Linked DNA regions of Homo sapiens: region 2 is linked to region 1. Evidence: promoter capture Hi-C in 16 types of primary human blood cells and fetal thymus (Javierre and others, 2016). All regions are on one chromosome and are shown on one strand. The core of a region is centred on a gene start or on the middle of the fragment in contact, and the rest is flanking DNA. Distances in the headings are between cores, read along the strand shown.

Region 1 (6,596 bases), core at 651-3,150:
CCTTCACTGTAGGTCGTATTCTTTCCAGAATATGAACTGGAAACCTCCAAGCTTGTTTTTCCAGACTCTTATTAGCTCTCTATTTCTAGTTAGGTTCTGAATTGAGAGACAGTAGGGGATTCAGATGCAGGAGGAAGAAGACCTTTTCTCCAATTTGTGGAGGCAGCTCACATAGCTGAGTAGTGGTGGTGGTGGCAATGGGTGAGCCTGGCTTCCTGCTCGGGGGTGATGTGAACAGCAGCAGTAGCAGCAGCACTCAGCCCTAGCTCCAGCAGTACTAGCAGAGGCTCCAGGAACCTCAGCTGTTCAGAGCTTGTGGGCTCCCATGGCTGTTACTCTGTTGGACGCCTGCAGTGTAAGCTGGAGTATTGGCTCCTGGCTTTCTGCCTGCTGGTGGTAAAGGTGCCAATGTCAGCAGCCTCAGAGTCAATGATGGTAGCACTGGGTAAAACTATTTTCCCTTTCACGCTCCCAGCCCAGAGTTTCCCGTAGTTACTAGTCTCTGGGTAATCTCACATGTTCCCTTTTTGCTCTTAATTAACCCCTTGGATATATATGTAACCAGTTTCCTGTGTTAAATTCTCTCTCTCTTTTTTTTTTTTTTTTGAGATAGTGTCTCCCTGCGTTGCCCAGGATGGAGTCCTGTGGCACAATCTCGGTTCCACCACCACTCCTGGGGCATTTTTTTGTATTTTTATTTTGTATTTTTAGTAGAGAAGCGGGTCTCGCCACGTTGCCCAGGCTGGTCTTGAACTCCTGAGCTCAGATAATCTGCCCGTCTCGGCCTCCCAAAGTGCTGGATTACAGGGTAATTTAGCCACCAGGCCTGGCTGACACGACCACTTTGGAAGACAGTTTGTAAGTTTCTTATAAAACCAGGCCAGGCACAGTGGCTCATGCCTGTAATCCAAGCACTTTGGGAGGCCAAGGCAAGAGGATCGCTTGAGCCCAAGAGTTTGAGACCAGCCTGCTCAACATGGTGAAACCCCATCTCTGCAAAAAACAGAAAAATTAGCTGGGTGTGGTGGCACTGTGCCTGTAGTCCCAGCTGCTCGGGAGGCTGAGGTGGGAGGATCATCTGAACCCAGGGAATTTAAAGCTGCAGTGAGCCACGATTGTCTGCCATGACAGAGTGAGACCCTGTCTCAAAAAACAAAACAAAACCCCAAAAAACAAAACTAAACTTACTCTTACAATATGATCCAGCAATCATGCTTCTTGGTATCTACCCAAAGGAGTTGCGAACATGTCCACACAAAAACCTGTACACAGATGTTTGTAGGAGCTTTATTGATAATTGCCCAAACACAGAAACAACCAGAATGCCCTTTAGTTGGGGAATGAATAAACACTGTTACAGCCTGACAATGGAATATTATTCAGCACTAAAAAGAAATGAACTCTCAAGACAAGACATGGAGAAAGCTTAAATGCATATTACTATAAGGAAAGAAGCCAATCTGAAAAGGCTAGCCACTCCAAGATTCCCATTATATGCCATTCTGGAAAAGTCAAAACCATGCAGTCAGTGGAAAGATCAGCGGTTGCCAGGTGTTGTCGGAAGAAAGGGATGAACAGGAGCACTAAGGATTTTCAGGGCAGTCAAACTATTCCGCGTGATACTATAATGGTGGATCCATGTCATTATATATTTGCCAAAACCCACAGAATAAAACACCAAGAGTGAACCCTAATGCAAACTCTGAATTTTGGGTGATAATGATGTGTCAATGTAGGTTCACTGATCATAACAAAGGTACCACTTTGGTATGGGATGTTGACAGTGGAGGATGCTGTGCATGTGTGACAGTAGGGGTACATACGGGAACTCTATTTTCTGCTCAATTTTGCTGTGAACCTGAAAGTGTTCTAAAAACTAAAGTCTATTTTAAAAAATCCACTGTTTCACCTAATTCAACACTTCACTCCCACTCTGATAATCTCTGGCAACCAATGATCTGTTTACTGTCTGTATTTAAATTTAATTAAAACAATTTTTAAACTGTTTTGATATTTTTATAATAATCAATATATTTTGATTGGACTTTTATAGTGAGCACTTTCTTTGGAAATGAGTGTCTTTGACCTTCAAAAAAGTTATAGTTGTTATCAGTTATCATAAGAGGTGGGGCCCACCTCTTAAAGTAGCAATAAAATCTTATTTATGGTTGAAAAAGGTCAGGTCATTGCGCCACTTCTCTTTGCAGGTTTCTGTGCAATCCATCAGGGGACAGCTGGGACTAATCATTTAAAAAACTTTCCAGCCTGCTAATTTTACCATACCTCACATTTTTGTCATTCCTGGCCAAAATCCAAAGGGCAAGTCCCTTCTGCAGCCTCATTTTTTTTTTTTCTGTACTTTCGCTCCCCTGACGCAAGCTTCCACTGTCTCCCATCCTAACTTTACCACTACGCCCTCTAGAATGCCTTTTCCTGATAAGCAAAACCCCCCGAGTCGTTGGCTCCTCCACTTTCCGGTTTTGGCAGAATCCTTGATCTGAGCCAGGCCTCTTCCCAGGGGCTCTGGCCCTCTTCACTTCCTTTTCCCCGGAGGACTCTGGCTCCCGGGTAGCAAGCAGCCCACTTCCCCGGCCGCTTCCTTCCCCCGGGATGACACGTTTCTACAGGCGGACTCTTCTAATTCATACTATTTCCCTACCCCCGTGGTGGCTCCTAGCACCCCCAGGCCTGTTCTACCTGTAAAATCTTGACACATTTAAACTACTACTTCTGATCCTTTCCTCCCCGTCCAGCCTTCGCTCTTAGGCTGCCGAGCCTGGACTGCTTGTCATCCCCTCAGGCGTCTCCCCGGCCCTCCCTGCTCTTCAGCCGTCCCGACGGAGCGCGGCTCCTGACCAAACCCACGGTTCGTCTTCTCCACCTGCTCCGCGCGCCTCGCATGTGTCTGGGGGGAAACACATCCAAACGTCGACTTAAATGATTCAGGGCCGAGGACCGTGAGAGGCAGTCTTCACTTTTTCATCTTTCTTCATTTGCACAGTATACCAATAAGCTCTTACTACTTCTCAGCACAGGTAACTCGCCTTTTGCAGAGCACCCTCCGCCGCCGAACGGTCAGAGCCTGGAGGAACCCGCACCAGGATCGTAGGGCATGACGGGCCGGGGGCGGGACGAGGATTGACGAGCCGGGAACAGGGCGGGGCTTGAGGGGGCGGGAGGGTGGGGCGAGGCATGACGGCTCTGGTGGGAGGGTAGGCGGGGCTTGACGGGCCTGGGGGCGGGGCGGGGCTTGAGGGACCGGAAGGTGGGGCGAGTCATGACGGGCCGGGGCGTGGGCAGGGCTTGAGGGGCCAGGGGACTGTGTGGGGCCTGACGGGCCGGTGGGTGGGGCGGGGCTTGAAGGACCGGAGGGTGTGTGGGCGGGGCTTGATAGGCAGGGGCGGTGCGGGGGCGTGGGCAGCACAAGCCGTGCGCTCCCGGGCTGCGAGGTCTGGCTAGGCTACGGGCCACGCGCCGCCGCCGCTGCCGCCGCCACTGTCCTCTTCGGAGGCGCGGGCCCGACGGAAACCATGTTTGTGGCTCGCAGCATCGCGGCGGACCACAAGGATCTCATCCACGATGTCTCTTTCGACTTCCACGGGCGGCGGATGGCAACCTGCTCCAGCGATCAGAGCGTTAAGGTGCGCGCGGCGCTTGCGGGCGGGGCCGACCCCGGAAGGAAGGAAGGGGAGTGGGTGGGCGGCGCGGGGAACGGGGCTGTGTCTTGGTTCAGTGACGCCGCTGGAAGCTGTGGGGTGGCGGGCGAGCCCTGGCTGGACTGAGCGGAAGCCCTCCCCGCCCGCGTATTGTGGGGTCACGGCGGCCTCGCGGGCCGCCCTCCCGTGCGCCTGCGCAGCTGGTGCCACGTGCGCGCTCCCGCCCGCAGGGTACGCCGGGCCCTCTCCCAGGCCGCGCTGCCGGGGCTGCGGGCGGGAACCCAGGGGCATCCCACCGTCAGCCTCGGCGTCGTGGGTCTTGCCCGCGCTGTTCACCCGACGACCTGCAGTGGGACCTGGTGGGAGACTTTGCCTGGCTGGCGCTGCGTCGAGTTCTGTGCCCCGCCGGTGTTCTCTCACCAGGGCACATGGTTTTCTCCGTGGGTTCAGAGCAGAAGCTCACTTTGTTACGCCGAGGAAGAAAAATACAAACCATTTACATCCAATGATTTCCCTGCTTGCTGCCCAGGAATCGGAGGGTTTGTTTCTTGAAGTTCCCGTAAACGTCTGTAGACACTTCCGACAAGCAGAATTTCTTTTCTTTTTTTTTTTTTTTTTTTGAGACCGAGTCTCACTCTGTCACCCAGGCTGGAGTGCAATGGCACGATCTCGGCTCACTGCAACGTCCGCCTCCCGCTTTCAGGCGATTATCCTGCCCCAGCCTCCCAAGTAGCAGGGATTACAGGTGCACGCCACCACCCCCGGCTAATCTTTTTTTTTTTTTGTATTTTTTAGTAGAGACAGAGTTTCACCATGTGGGCCAGGCTGGTCTCGAACTCCTGACCTCGTGATCCACCCGCCTCGGCGCCTCGGCCTCCCAAAGTGCTGGGATTACAGGCGTGAGCCACCGCGCCCGGCCTACAAGCAGAATTTCTAATGTGGGGATGCTACATGAGATTTAGGAACCTCCCAGATGTGTTGCAGGATGAATGAAAGCTGGAGTGCGGATTATTTGGTTCTCGACAACTCCAGAGTAACTGGAAATCTGAAGGATAGTTTATCCTTTTTCACATTCGAGTTTGATACCAGTGATCTCTCAAAGATAAACTTTTTATAAATAGTGTTGCAATTTTTAAAAGATGTAGTTTCTTTTTTAAAACAAGTTTATTTTTGTTGTAATAAACTACGTTAACCGTTTTTTTTTTTTTTTTTTTTTTTTTTTTGAGACGGAGTCTTGCTCTGTCACCCAGGCTGGAGTGGGGTGGCGCAATCTTGGCTCACTGCAAGCTCCGCCTCCCGGGTTCACGCCATTCTCCTGCCTCAGCCTCCCAAGTAGCTGGGACTACAGGCGCCCGCCACCACGCCCGGCTAATTTTTTGTATTTTTTAGTAGAGACAGGGTTTCACCATGTTAGCCAGGATGGTCTCTATCTCCTGACCTCGTGATCCGCCCACCTCGGCCTCCCAAAGTGCTAGGATTACGGGCGTGAGCCACCGCGCCCGGCCCACGTTAACCGTTTTAAAGTGTAGAATTCAGTGGCATAGAGCACAGCATTCACATTTTTGTGCAGCGTCGCCCCTGCCCATCTCCAGAACCTTTTCATCATCCTAAACTGAAACTCTGTACCCAAGAGCACCCTGTTCCGCCACCCCATCCTCTGGTAACCTCTATTCTACTGCTTTCTATTAATTTGCATATTCTAGGTACCTCAGATAAATAGAATCATAGAATATTCGCCCTTTTATATTTGGTTTATTTCACTTAGTATAATTTTTTTTTTCTTTTTTCTTTTTCCTTTTTTTTTGAGGCAGAGTCTGGCTCTGTCACCCAGGCTGGAGTGCAGTGGTGCGATCTTGGCTTGTTGCAGCCTCAACATCCCAGGTTCAAGCCATCCTCCCACCTTAGCCTCTCCAGTAGCTGGGACTACGAGTGCACGCCACCACGCCTGGCCAATTAAAACATTTTTTTTGTAGAGGCAGGGTCTTGCTGCGTTGCCCAGGCTAGTCTCGAACTCCTGAGCTCAAGTGATCCTCTCACCTCAGCCTCCCAGAGTGCTGGGATTACAGGTGTGAGTCACCTTGCCCAGCCCTCTTAGGTCCATTTATTCCAGAGTACTTTTTTTTTAAAGGAGGAGCCATGTATTTATTTGTATATATTTTTAATTGAGCAAGTAATATATTTTTCTTTTTAGAAAGTGAAAAAATTATAGACTTATTGCTAATGTGTTAATATTTATTGATTTCCTCTGTTTTTCCTTTAACGTTTTAAGTTGTCATGGTAGAGTGTGTGTATATACGTATATGTCTTGTCAGAAATAGTGTTGTACTGAAATTTTTCATTAGTTTAGCATTTTATGTATTTTGAATGATTTTCTTAGGCTAATTCTAGAAGATAAATTAGTGGATATTTTAAACACTATTGAAGAGAATTGACAAATTGCTATTTTGCAGGTCGTACCGTTTTATACCGCCAGTGATAGTATTGATTTGATAGTGTTATTGCCCTCGTTACATTTTTAACAGGTGAAATTGGCACCTTCTTATTGTAATCTATATTTTTTCTGGGTAATAAGGTTTAATTTTTTTGTTTTGAGATGGAGTCTTGCCATGTTGCCCAGGCTGGAGTGCAGTGGCTATTCACGGGCGTGATCATAGCCTTAAACTCCTGGGCTCAAGTAATCCCTCCTGCCTCAGCCTCTTGAGTAGCTGGGACTACAGGTGTGCACCACCATGCCTGGTTTCAATATTTTTGCTTTACCATTTGTTACATGTACAGTTGAGCCTGTTGTTTGTAGATTCTGTATTTTTTGAATTTGTCTACTCTGAAATTTACTTGTACCCCAAAAGTCACACTGGTTTTGCAGTCATTTGTGCATGTGTGAGGAGTGGTGAAAAAGTTTGAGTCTCAGGACAGACGTTTCCCATTGAGGTGAAACCAGGC
Region 2 (6,920 bases), core at 4,299-6,798, 290 kb before region 1:
CCTCTAAAGAGCTAGTCTTTCCTTTTTCTTGAATTTATCTTCTTGGGTCCTATATCACACTACTTTTATGGCCATGCTAGCAATTTGGCTCTAAGTTTTACCTGAATGCTAAATAAACTCACTAATTCTTCATTTTTTTCCTTCATTGGTCTCCAGCCTCTGACACATTTCAACATTTTTCTGTTTTTCTTATAGCATATTTCTATTTATTTCATTCAAACTGAATCTAACCATTCTCAGATGTATCAATACTGTTAAAAGTAAACAAGAATTAAAATCAATTACTACCACATTCAGTCCCCTAAAAAGTCAGTAAAGCCTATGAAGTACTATTTCTTCTAAAAGGACTAAATGGAGTGATACTGCTGGTACTGGCAAGAACCAGTACGACTCATTCAGCTCAACAACAGAGTGACAATGGCCTGTAGAAGGATTCACTCACTTGAGGATTACAGCCAGAATCCACTTCTCTACCCTGAACACAATCCTGGGCACCACCTGCTAGAGCAGTGGTTCTCAACTGGGATGATTTTGCACCCTAGGGAACATCTGGCAATGGACAGAGACTTTTTTAATGTCACAATTGCAGGGGAGGGGCCTACTGGCATCCAGTGTTAGAGATCAGATCACGGATGCTGCACAGAACAGCCACCACAACAAAGTATTACTCAGCCAAAAATGCCGACAGTGCCAGTTAAGAAACTCTGACCTTGACATTTACCCCAATTCTTGGTAAAAACATAAAACAGATGGACTAGAGACAGTATAGTGGTGAGAAAGGACCACAGGATTAGAGGAAGAAGGAAACTAAAACCTACTGAGTACCTGCTATACAGCAAGTCTTGCCACTTGACATATATTATCCTCACTTATGCCCCAATCCTGTGAAAACAACAATATATTCTGATTTTACACAGAAGGCTAGACTCAGGGTGATTGGGGAACTTACTCACTGTCACTTATCTAAGGGGAAGAATCACAAAACAAATTCAAACCAAATGTTTCATTCCACAACACTACTAAGCCTAGACACTAAAAGACCAAGATTTGATTCAAAGAGTTACTAATCACTTAACTTCCCTAAACGTCCATTTAGAAAATATATCAGGCCGGGCGTGGTGGCTTACACCTGTAATCCCAGCACTTTGGGAGGCCAAGGCTGGTGGATCACTGAGGTCGGGAGTTCGTGACCAGCCTGGGCAACATGGGGAAACCCCGTCTCTACTAAAAATACAAAATTAGCCAGGCGTGGTAGTGCATGTCTGGAATCCCAGCTACTCGGGAGGCTGAGGCAGGAGAATCTCTTGAACCCGGGAGGCGGAAGTGGCAGTGAGCCAAGATTGCGCCATTGCACTCCAGCCTGGGCAACAAGAGCAAAACTCCGTCTCAAAAAAAAAAAAGAAAGAAAGAAACAGAAATCAATGGATGTGAAAACATAAACGTTGCAGATTGCTAACTACATATAATCATGATAAATACAATGAAAAAGAAAGTGTGGCCAGGCACCGTGGCTCACTTCTGTAATCCCAGCACTGTGGGAGGCTGAGGCGGGTGGATCACCTGAGGTCAGGAGTTTGAGACCAGCTCAGCCAACATGGTGAAAACCCTTCTCTACTAAAAATACAAAAATTAGCTGGGCATGGTGGTACACACCTGTAATCCCAGCTACTTGGGAGGCTGAGGTAGGAGAATTGCTTGAACCCTGGAGGCGGAGGTTGCAGTCAGCCGAGACTGCACCACTGCACTCCAGCCTGGGCGACAAAGTGAGACTCCACCTCAAAAAAAAAAAAAAAAAAAAAAAAATTTGGCTGGGCACGGTGGCTCACGCCTGTAATCCCAGCACTTTGGGAGGCCGAGACGGGCGGATCACGAGGTCAGGAGATCGAGACCATCCTGGCTAACATGGTGAAACCCCGTCTCTACTAAAAATACAAAAAAATTAGCCAGGCATGGTGGCAGGCATCTTTAGTCCCAGCTACTCGGGAGGCTGAGGTAGGAGAATGGCATGCACCTGGGAGGCGGAGCTTGCAAGCTTGCAGTGAGCTGAGATCGCGCCACCACACTCCAGCCTGGGCGACTGAGCGAGACTCCGTCTCAAAAAAAAAAAAATTATTTTTACTTATTTTCCCCAACTCTTCCCTACAATGGAAGTCTCATGAATACAAACGTTCCTTAAAACTGAAACGAGAAGTCAGGCGCAGTGGCTCACGCCTGCAATCCCAGCACTTTGGGAGGCCGAGGCAGGCGGATCATGAGGTCAAGAGATCAAGACCATCCTGGCCAACATGGCGAAACCCCATTTCTACCAAAAATACAAAAATTAGCTGGGCGTGGTGGCATGCGCCTATAGTCCCAGCTGCTCGGGAGGCTGAGGCAAGAGAATCACTTGAACTCAGGAGGCAGAGGTTGCAGTGAGCCAAGACTGTTCTACAGCACTCCAGCCTGGCAACAGAGGGAGACTCCATCTCAAAAAAAAAAAGAAAGAAAGAAAAGAAAAGAAAAAGAAAAGAGAGACTGGGCAAGGTGGGTTACACCTGTAACCCCAGCACTTTAGCAGGCCAAGGCAGTTGGATCACTTAAGCCCAGGAGTTCCAGGCTGCAATGAGCTATGACTACAGCACTGCACTCCAGCCTTCAGCAGCCTGGGCAATACAGCAAGACCCTGTCAAAAAAAAAAAAGAAGAAAAGAAAAAGAGAGAGAGAGAGAGAAAGAGAAAGAAATAAAGCGAAAGAAAGAAGGAAGGAATAGAATTTTTAAGTGTGCACACCACCAAATTATTCATCAAGTGTAAGAATCAAGATAAAATCTTCAGAAGACTGTATCTTCCTGAGCCACGCAACTATTCTTAAAGCCAATGAGGAAATAAACTAATGTTTTAGTATGAACTTCTTAAATAATTTTAGGCAACAGAAAATGCTCAAGTCTCTATCAACAACTTTGATTAGGCCTCCTCCATAACTGGTAGCGCAGGTCATGAGCAGAACTGAGAAAGAGAATTATAAACCTATTGCGAATTGTGGAGAACAACTCCACTCACTATTTTCTCCATAAAGGCAGTTTATTACACTGAGATCAACATGTTATCACTCACACTAGTGATGTAAAAAATAATCCAATTCAACATAAGATTCAGACCAAAAAAAAAGAAAAAACCCATCCACGAGAATCTATCAATCTTTGACAACAAAACTACACGATTTTGGGATTAAATTTAAGTGACAAGACAATGTAAACTGGGGGCTTGTTCTCTCCGGAAATCACCACTACCAACGCTGCTTCTAAAAGCAGGCTGCACACAACCATTTTTCCTCTGGAAATAGCTAAATCCCAAGGCACGATATTGCTGTATTTTTTTTTGAGACGGCGTCTCGCTCTGTCACCCAGGCTGGAGTGCAGTGGCGCGATCTCAGCTCACTACAGCCTCCACCTCCCAGGTTCAAGCAATTCTCCCACCTCAGCCTCCCGAGTAGCTGGTATTCCAGCGGCACAACACCACGCCCGGCTAATTTTTGTATTTTTAATAGAGACGGGGTTTCACCATGTTGGCCAGGCTGGTCTCGAACTCCTGACCTCAGGTGATCCACCTGCCTCGGCATCCCAAAGTGCTGGGATTACAGGCTTGAGCCACCGCACCTGGCAGACATTGCTGTATTTTATAAATGTATCTTTTGTACCATTTAATACACTATAAATTATAATTGCAAGTATTTCCCACTAAGATTAAGTCCAAGTTTAAAAGCAATAAGCCCATCAAAGAAACAAAAATACTATTTGAAATAGTTTCAAAAGAACAATTAAAAAGATGGCTTTAAATAAAAAATCGTTTACCTGACGCTAAAAAATAAAAGATAAAAGCATGTAAATAAAAATGTGTTTACCTGACACTAAAAAATAAAAGATAAAAACGTTCTGGTGGAACTGAAAGAATAACTATAACCTTGAATATTGTTTTAATCAAGTTAGACAAGGGTTTTCATTAAATGTCATTTTACTAATTCGAAATTACATCTTTCACCTTAAGCATTTTGACATTTCCATCAACTTTCTAAAAGTGAGGGTAGATTGTTTTTCTATGTTTTTAATAGACTTGCCTCTCAAAAGAATGAATTAGATAAAAACTGATGGGAGAAACCTTTTCTCAACCTCCTCCTCCTCTTCAATGAGCATCTGAGTAAACCCTGGCTATAAATTACTGTTTAGGTCATAATCCTGAAAATTTTACATTAGACAATGACGTAACTAAGGCCCATTTTCTCTTTGTATCCCGACATCCTGTCAACTTTTCACTTTACAAGCCTGTTTTTCATCACAACAAATTTTCACATACAGGAATGCAATCAGTATTTTCTAACGTCCAGGAGCCAAAAATCACTATTTAGTCTATTTTTCCATTTCTCCCCAAAGAGCAGAATTCTCACGGTTCAGAATCATCTTTACATTTCCGAACCGAGGAAAGGCTGTCTAATGTGGAATACTGCTAGTTTCCCGTGAGGAGTGCGGTGTTTCCGACAGCGGCACTGAGGATCCGTGCGGAGCCCCCGCGTGAAGCCTGCGATGCCCTCCCCACCCCGTGAACCCGGCCGTGTGTCAGCAGCCACGGCGTGAGGCGCACAGGCCGCTGGCCCGGAGCAGGGCCCAGCCCACCGCTCCCAAACGCGCCGCGGGCAGCTGTCCCGCGGGCAGCACAATGACGAGCGCCCCGCGGCCCGCAGGCCCAGGCCCACCCAAACGTCCTCCGCACAGCGGATTTGCGCCGTCGCCCGCCACGAGGCTCTGACCTCCGAGGGGCCCCGGCCAGCCACGGCCTGACGCCGTCCTCCCCTGCGGGTCCCCGCCGGATCCTCCCGGGGGTCTCCCGTGGCAAAATGGGGGGGGACGGCGGGGGCGGAAGGGCCGGGGACGCTGAGGGTAAGGCGGCCCAGCCGCGGGTGTTCCAAGAACTACGAGGGAAAGGGGCCCGGCGGCCTCACCCGCAACTGGGGGCGGCTCTCCCGCGTCGTCGGCCGCGGGCGCCAGGGTGACGGCGCCGTCCCTCCAGACGCGGATCTGCGCGGCCGAGCGCACACGGTGGCGGGGCTGGCGGCGGCGGGCGGCGGCGCGCAGGGAACCGCAGCACTGGTAGCACACGGCCCACGCCTGCTCCTCGTTGATGGGCTGGTTGTACAGCCGCAGGATCTCCTCCAGGCTCAGCGCGTCCCGGGAGCCCCCGGCCGCGCCGCCGGCTGCCCCGGGCTCCCGCGGCCCCTCGCCGCCCACTGCCTCAGTCCGCGGCTCCCCGCCGCCCGCCGGGCCAGCCGCCTGAGCCATCCCGCGGGTGGGCGCTGCGCTCGGCAGTCGCGCCGTGTGCCGGCGTCTCCTCAGCTCCGGAGCATCGTCGTCGCGCGCCGCCGCCTCACCATCCCCGGAACCGCCGCCGCCCAACGCGGCCGCGCGCGCCGCCGCCGGGACCAGGCGAGTGCCCGGGAGGCGTGGGCAAGAGGAGGGCGGCGAGGACACGGCTGCAGTCCCGGTCAGACAGCCGCCGGCCGGTAGCGACGCGATGGCGTCCGGCGCCCCGCCCCGCCCCGCCCCGCCTCGCGCCGTCCAGCGCCGCCCAGCGCCCGCCCCTTAGGGGGCCGCACGGGCCGGGGGATGCACGCTCTGGAGGTGAGGACCAGGCAGGAGGGCCTCGCCTCGAGGCGAGATGGCCGCACGGTCTCTAGCCCGCAGGGCTCTCAGAGTCGCAGGCGGTGACGCCCGGTCGGGGGGCCCGGTCGCAAGGGACACACAGCTGGGGGCGCAATGGTGAGGGCGGCGACGCACGGTCCGGAGGGGATGCGCGGCCGGGTAGGGCGTGCAGGGTTGTGGGGCGTGGGGGACACGCGGGGCCGGGCGCGCGGTCGGGGGGCGCAGGGGCAAGAGGGTGTCGCATTTATCAGGGAAGTCCCCGGCCGACTCTGGCGGGGAACTGGGCGCGCCAACCCGGGTCACCGCCCTGCACAGCGGGAGAAGTCACCCGCATTGACGTTCCCTAGGCGCTGGATCGCCGAAGGTCTGGTTGAAAACTTGAACCCGCCTGGAGCGGATGCCTAAGAAAATGCAGGCCCGCTGAAGCCTCCCCGCCGGGCCCTGGGCCCTGAAAGCCTCCGGCAGTTTCCCGTGACCCCGCGGCCGCTCTGCGCGTTTTCCGATTTCTTGCTGGTTGAATACCTCCCTCTCCACTCCCATCTTCAGGGTAAGCACCGTAAAGACGGGGATCTTTACGGGTTTTCCTCACTGACTTCTCCCAAAAGCTAAACCAGCGCCTGGAATATAAACATGTACATAATTTGCAGGTGTTAGTTTTAGCGTCCTTCCGGATTCATTTGTAACATTGGTCCCTTCCCTCACTAAGGTAATGTCTCAAGTACCACACTCATCAGAGCATGTGGAATGAATATCACAGTGGTAAAATTGAACTGAGGGCAATTAGCCGTAGAAAGAAAGAATTCCGCCCCCCCAACCTATTAAATATGCAATAAAACAGATAATTCTTAATCACCCATTGGTAGATTAATTTAATCGATAAAATTCCACTGAGGCTAGTCCTGTGTGAAAGCCCTACAGAGTGTTGAAAGCATCAACCAAATAGGCAATGTATATTAAGTTCCAGTAAACCTTTTACGGCAGTTTTATGTAAAATGTTAGAAATCACGCTCTCAACAATTGCATCTTGCGGTAGAAACTACAACAGTCTATTTAAATAACAACAGTCTATTAAAATGAGATACCATCTTACATACAGCTGGGAATGGGGAGGAGGGAGAAAAGCAACAGGACGAAAAGGAAAATTAAGAAATTGAAAGAGGGCCGTGCGCAGTGGCTTAGGCCTGTAATCCCAGCACTTTGGGAGGCTGAGGCGGGCAGATCACTGAGGTCAGGAGTTCGAGACCAGCCTGGC

What was found. Contacts are between HindIII fragments. The CHiCAGO score rates a contact against its expected background, and 5 or more counts as called.
Region 2: a contact is called between the fragment with the promoter of SPIRE1 here and a fragment that was not itself captured in region 1, in 1 of 17 cell types (monocytes). The highest score is 5.3, in monocytes.

The regions. Positions count from the first base shown.
Region 1 is chr18:12,944,592-12,951,187 of GRCh38, forward strand. It overlaps SEH1L (SEH1 like nucleoporin), which reads left to right and starts at 3,420. Exons shown (of 9, transcript NM_001013437.2): 1 at 3,420-3,641. The coding sequence starts at 3,531. RefSeq lists silencers at 3,118-3,567, 3,608-3,957, 3,968-4,067 and an enhancer at 3,999-4,600. The HindIII fragment of the contact is 954 bases long and covers 1,424-2,377 here.
Region 2 is chr18:12,652,559-12,659,478 of GRCh38, forward strand. SPIRE1 (spire type actin nucleation factor 1) reads right to left here and starts at 5,549. Exons shown (of 17, transcript NM_001128626.2): 1 at 4,972-5,549. The coding sequence starts at 5,308. It also overlaps a transcript of PSMG2 not described here. RefSeq lists silencers at 4,969-5,088, 5,279-5,698, 5,568-5,736, 5,739-5,808, 5,859-6,008. The HindIII fragment of the contact is 7,532 bases long and covers 2,031-6,920 here.